Regions from separate parts of the Homo sapiens genome. Here region 2 is linked to region 1. The links are contacts of gene promoters, found by promoter capture Hi-C in blood cells and fetal thymus (Javierre and others, 2016). All regions are on one chromosome and are shown on one strand. The core of a region is centred on a gene start or on the middle of the fragment in contact, and the rest is flanking DNA. Distances in the headings are between cores, read along the strand shown.

What was found. The method cuts DNA at HindIII sites, captures the fragments that hold promoters and counts their contacts. A CHiCAGO score of 5 or more calls a contact.
Region 2: a fragment that was not itself captured here is called in contact with the fragment with the promoter of TRO in region 1 in 1 of 17 cell types (fetal thymus); the score reaches 6.1 in fetal thymus.

The regions. Positions count from the first base shown.
Region 1 is chrX:54,918,861-54,922,073 of GRCh38, forward strand. It overlaps TRO (trophinin), which reads left to right and starts at 1,964. Exons shown (of 13, transcript NM_001039705.3): 1 at 1,964-2,018. The HindIII fragment of the contact is 6,316 bases long and covers 1-3,213 here.
Region 2 is chrX:54,640,040-54,643,023 of GRCh38, forward strand. It overlaps a transcript of GNL3L not described here. Among named protein-coding and RNA genes, the nearest start is that of GNL3L, 110 kb to the left of the region's middle. The HindIII fragment of the contact is 1,071 bases long and covers 919-1,989 here.

The sequences.
Region 1 (3,213 bases), core at 714-3,213:
CTACAATGAACTCAAACAAATTGACAAGAAAAAAACAAACAACCCCATCAAAAAGTAGGTGAAGGACATGAATAGACACTTCTCAAAAGAAGACATTTATGCAGCCAAAAAACACATGAAAAAATGCTCACCATCACTGGCCGTCAGAGAAAGGCAAATCAAAACCACAATGAGATACCATCTCACACCAGTTAGAGTGGCAATCATTAAAAAGTCAGGAAACAACAGGTGCTGGAGAGGATGTGGAGAAATAGGAACACTTTTACACTGTTGGTGGGACTGGAAACTAGTTCAACCATTGTGGAAGTCAGTGTGGTGATTCCTCAGGGATCTAGAACTAGAAATACCATTTGACCCAGGCATCCTATTACTGGGTATACACCCAAAGGACTATAAATCATGCTGCTATAAAGACACACGCACACATATGTTTATTGCGGCATTATTCACAATAGCAGAGACTTGGAACCAACCCGAATGTCCAACAACGATAGACTGGATTAAGAAAATGTGGCACATATACACCATGGAATACTATGCAGCCATAAAAATGATGAGTTCATGTCCTTTGTAGGGTCATGGATGAAATTGGAAATCATCATTCTCAGTAAACTACTGCAAGGACAAAAAACCAAACACCGCATATTCTCACTCATAGGTGGGAATTGAACAATGAGAACACATGGACACAGGAAGGGGAACATCACACTCTGGGGACTGTTGTGGGGTGGGGGGAGGGGGGAGGGATAGCATTAGGAGATATACCTAATGCTAAATGACGAGTTAATGGGTGCAGCACCCCAGCATGGCACATGTATACATATGTAACTAACCTGCACATTGTGCACATGTACCCTAAAACTTAAAGTAGAATAATAATAAAATAAAATAAAAAAGACTTGTTTTTGGCCTAACTTATGATCTATCCTGGAGAATTTTCTATGTGTGCTTGAGAATATTATATATTCTATTGGATAAAATATTCCGTAGGTCCTTTTTGTCTAAAGTGTATTTCAAGTTCAATGTTTCCCTATCGATTTTCTGTCTGGATGATCTGTGAATTGTTGAAGATGGGGTCTTGAAGTCTCCTACCATTATTGTATTGCAGTCTACTTCTCCCTTCAGATCTATTAATATTTGTTTTATATATTTAGGTGCTTCTATGTTGGGTGCATATATTAAATATGTTTATAATTATTCGATATTCACGATGAATTTATCTCATTATCATTATATAATGACCTTTAAGATCTTTTATGGTTTTTGACTTTAAGTCTATTTTATTTGACATATGTGTAGTTATCCTTGCTCTCTTTTGAATGATTGATGGAATAGATAAATGTCATGAATTGTTTTCTGCATGGGGGCACAGTGCACCATGTCACAAGAGACAGTCTAAGTACAAACTGATATTGTTAAAACATCAATATAGTCATTGTGGGATCAATAAAAACTTTTCATAGATTTTTATACATTACTGTTTTTATTCTGAATTGCATAAGATGGACGGGCACCCTATCTTTTAGTGTTTAGAACCTCTAAATGTTTTAATGTGGTAACACTTGAAAAACAGAAATGAATATGACCTAGTCCCCTGCTCCAGAGCAGCTCTAGGGAAGAGAGACATAGACACAAGGTATAACAACACTATGTAAATAGTGTTGGGATAGAGGGTCTGTAGGAAGGGTTGGTGTGGGAGTTCAGAGAACTACATTCCTCCTAGGGGAAACAGGAGAATCAAATAGGAACGGAGATACAGAGTGGGGAATAGAGAAGTCAAATGGAGAATAAGAGGGAGTGATAACTGAATAGGGGTAGTAAGAAGAAAAAGGGAGCTACATTGAGGAGAATGGAAAGTTGAAAGTAGGTATGGAGGGGAGGAGACTGACAGGCAGGAACGGAGACCCCCCTCTGGAGGCGGAAAGAGGCAGGACCACTTCCGGCCAGGGAGGGGGATAGGCTCAGACACAAGGAGAGGCTTGGAGAGAGCAGACGCCTTCTGGATTCAAGAAGACGAGGTGAGCTGAGGTACCTGGCTTTAGTGAAGACCCTGTGGGGGCTTCCTGGCTGCGGCTTCGACGTGCCTGACTCCACACGCCCCTAAGGTTTGAAGAAAACCTGCTGGAGGTTTGGGACCTAACCGCATCAAAGTCGCCTTTAGCGGTGCCTGGACCCAGTTCGCACGGGAGGAAGTAGGAGGCAGAATCCCCTTTGGGCCACAGAAAGTAACGATCTGGACTCGGTTCGGGCCGTGAAAGGGAGGGATGCAGACCTAGTTGGGACCGCAGAAAGGAAGGATCGAGAAATCCTTCAGACGGTAGCAAGAGGGGAGGAGGATACACACAGTTCGGGAGGGAGATAGGAGACGGCAGGACTCCGTTTAGGCTGGAGAAAGGGGGCAGTACCCCGTTTGGGCCACAGAATGGAGGGATCGGGACCCAGAGATAAGAGTGGGCAGCATCCCTTTTGAGCAACGGAAAGGACCAGACTCAGACAGGAGAAAGGAGGGGATATGACCCGGTTGGTTCCGGTTTGAAAGGGAAGAGACAGGACCTGGTAGGGTTTGAGAACAGGAATACACAGAAGGTTCATACAGTTGGATTTGGGGGTGAGGTATTCATGTTGCAGAAAGGGCGGAGCTGCACACTTGCAGACGTGGAAAGAGGGGGGAGTGGTGTTGGTTGGGGAAGGGGTGGTGCAGAGACGTACCGCAGAGCGGAGGGAGGGGGCTTATTAAAGGAAGGGAAGATGAAGAGAAATGCTGCAGAGCGGAGGGAGGGGGGTGTATTGGGAAGGGGCGGTGCGTGGCAGTACCGCAGAGGAGAGATGGGCGGTGTTGGGGTAGGGGCGGTGCGGAGTGGTACTGCAGAGCGGAGGGAGGGGGCTAGTGTTGGGGGAAGGGTTGGATCGAGATGTGATGCAGTTAGAAAGAGTGGGTCGGGGTGGCGCCAAGATGTTCTGTTGCTCTGAGAGCAGGGGGCAGATGTGGGATTGAGCTGGTTAGAAACTGTCCGGTTTACCAAGGCGCATGCGCGCGGAGGGCATTGAAGAATGGTTCTTTTGGGATAGAGGTGGGCCTAAGATGGGGGGTGGGGGCGCCTCTAGTCGGTGCGCATGCGCACTATCGAGTTGCGGAGGGGGCGTGTAAAGGGGTGGGGTCGTAGAACTGACTCTCTCGGAGGCAAAAGGAGCTGGGCCTTGGAAACCAGATGG
Region 2 (2,984 bases), core at 204-2,703, 280 kb before region 1:
GGGTGACCGTGCCTGCGTACGTCCACAAGTGGGCCCATAAAGACTGGCCCATATATTTTTGAAACTGTTTATTTTTGTATCTGTTTCCTCTTCTGCCCTGACATCCCAGAGAAAGAGTTGTGGGTGATTGACCTTTGAATCACCAGCACCTCGGGGAGGGCCTGGTACAAAGAAGACACATTTTTAAGGCGGTTGATTGACGGAAGGAAAAGACTGAAAAAACGAAAACAACAAGCCAAAAACCCCAAACCCAGAGATACCCATACATGACATAAAGTTAAGGCCTTTTTAAAAAGTAATAATAGAGGAGAAATTTTAAATGTCCATCAGCAGAGCTTGAGGCCATGCAGTTTTTAGGTTGTTGCAGTCAGAGTGTACACACAACCCTGCATCCTTAGTTATGGCATAATAATTTTTCTCTGTTGCTATAGAATCTCCACAGCCGTCATCTCTCAGCAATGGTTGTAGAATGTTCCATTAGACAGCTGTGCCACAATTCACTTAACCCTTCTCTTGTTGGATATTAAAACTACTTTCTAGTGTTTGACCACCAAAATATATCTCTGCAAGGAATAATTTTGTGCTTAGAGCTTTTCCTGTAGGAGTAGGGGTGGGTGGATATCGATTTAGGAGCAGAATTACCAGGAAAATGTCATAAACATGTTTTAGGCTCTTGTCGACCCGCTTTCCTGAAAGGGATCATACCCGTTGACATCAGAAGCCAAGTCCGAAATCAAACCTGGTGGACTCCGGGTCTTGTCTGTCTCCAGGCTGGTTTTAATTTCCGTATCCTGCAGCAATGCAGAAGTTTATTATTAGTTCTGACCTTTGGGGCAAGGCAAACACACACCAAAGGTTCGGGGACAACTTTAGCAACTGCAACAGCTGACATTGTGAGCGGGTGCAGCTCAGGTTTCAAGCTTGAGCAACTGGGTTGGATGAACTTGCCTCACTGAGACAGGGAATCTGAGAAGAGGAACAGGTTTGGGAGGGAGCAGATGAGATCAGTTTTAAATACATTTAGTTCGAGGTGCCTTTGGGACATCTAAAGGGAGGTATCCAGGAGACAGGCATACATACGGATAAACAACAGTTTTTGCCCTTCTCTGAACTCCCAGAGCTCCCTATCTGTGGATTTCTCATGGCTCAGTTTGCCTTTTACCTTTTACTATCCTCAGAGCTCCTTGAGGCCAGGATAAGGGCCTCATTCATTTGTGTATCCTTCCTCCCAGTGCCCAGTACAGTGCTTTATACCTAGAAGGCCATAAAAGTCTGTCCTGTATAATGAAATTTCATTGATTTCTTAATTGGATGATTCCTGCAGTAGGGGTCCTGATCTGGGTGAAAAAGTTTGGGAACCTTAAGAGTTCTGGGAAGGCTTCCTGTAAGAGGTGGCATAATGTTACCGTGAATAATTATGACTATTTGTTGAACACCTGCCATGTTCCAGTCACTCTGCTGCACACATGCATCAGAGATGCCACCACTATCTTTGATGGCCACTGGCCATCTTTACATCCCCTTCTGGGAGCACTGGCTCTACTTACAGCTCCTACCAAATGATCAAGCAAGGACTAACTATGTATTACATCCACCCTTCCTTTAGGATACAGCACCTGATCCAAGGCCAGCCCACAACCTGTGAGTTGTATGGCCCAGCTTTAGAAGATGAGGTGGGCCAATCAGATTGCTCTCTTGGGAATGTGAAATAAGAGATCCAGAGGAGAGTTGCCAGTTAGTTGTGGGGAGCTGAGCTGACAGGTCCAGTAGACCAGGATGCTGGGTAGGTGGGTGCAGCATTATGAATCAGGTCAAGTGCCTGTTAAAATCCTGGGGGAGCAGTTCAAGGTGGTTGGCTGAATGAGGAAGCTGGGGCAGATGTACAGAGAGAAGCAGACATGTAGTGCAGATGAATTACATTAATGGTAAAGCTCCAGAGCAGAGGGTCCATGCCTCATCCAGAAATTTCCTGCAGCTCCAGGCTTAATAAGCTTTATCTGTACTTCACTTCCTGCCCTTGGATTTCTGATTCGTGATCTAGCTTCACTGGGTTTCTGTTCCTTGCATCCAAAAGAGTCTTAACAAAAACAGCCTTTTAAATAGGTTTAATTTAATTTGCACTTCGGCCCTCTGAGGTGAGTGTACTTTTCCTCATTTTACAAGTGAAGAAACTGAGGCTTAGTGAGATTAACTTGACTAAGGTGACACAGCCAGTGATGGAGCTGGTCTGTCAGATTCTCTTAATCTTTTTTTTAAAAGCATTAATATGTTATTTTTATTTTTAAAAATGACCACAAGCTTGTCATATAAAAACAAAAGCAATCAATACAGACATAATCTGATCTGAACATCAATCAGCTCCTTCGACTCTTCCTTTCATTTATTTCCTTTCAATGTAAAGGAATGTAGCTCCAGCTACATTGGCCTCTGTTTCCAGAACACGCCAAGGTTGTTCTCACCTTTGGTCCTTTATACTGAGTGTTCCTTCTCTTTATTTAAAAAAAAATTTTTTTTCCTTCGCCAGCTTTAAACAGAGAGTCCCTTCTCTTTGTAATGCTTTTCCCCTTGCTTTTCCAGTGGCTGGCTCCTTCTTGTCATTGTCTTCACTCAATTGTCACTTCTTCAGAGAGGACTTTGCCAAACCACGCAGTATGAAATAGCCCACACAACTCTTGGCCCCACTGCTTTCTGTCATATAAACTCCTTTTTATTCCCTGCATAGCCCTTGTCACTGTTTGAAATTGCGTTGCTCATTTATGTAATTGTTTATTGTCTGCCTCCTCTTCAGAAATGAGAACAGAAGCCTTATCTGTATCCTGAGGATCTAAAACTGCTGGTATGTAAGTTCAATCAATATTTGTAGAATAAATGAATGTATAAACTAAAAACAAAGTTCTCATCCAATGCTTTTCTCTCCTAATACCAATCTCCAGAGACAGTAACTGTTAACAGTTTTGTCTACATCTTCCCATTTTCCATGCATA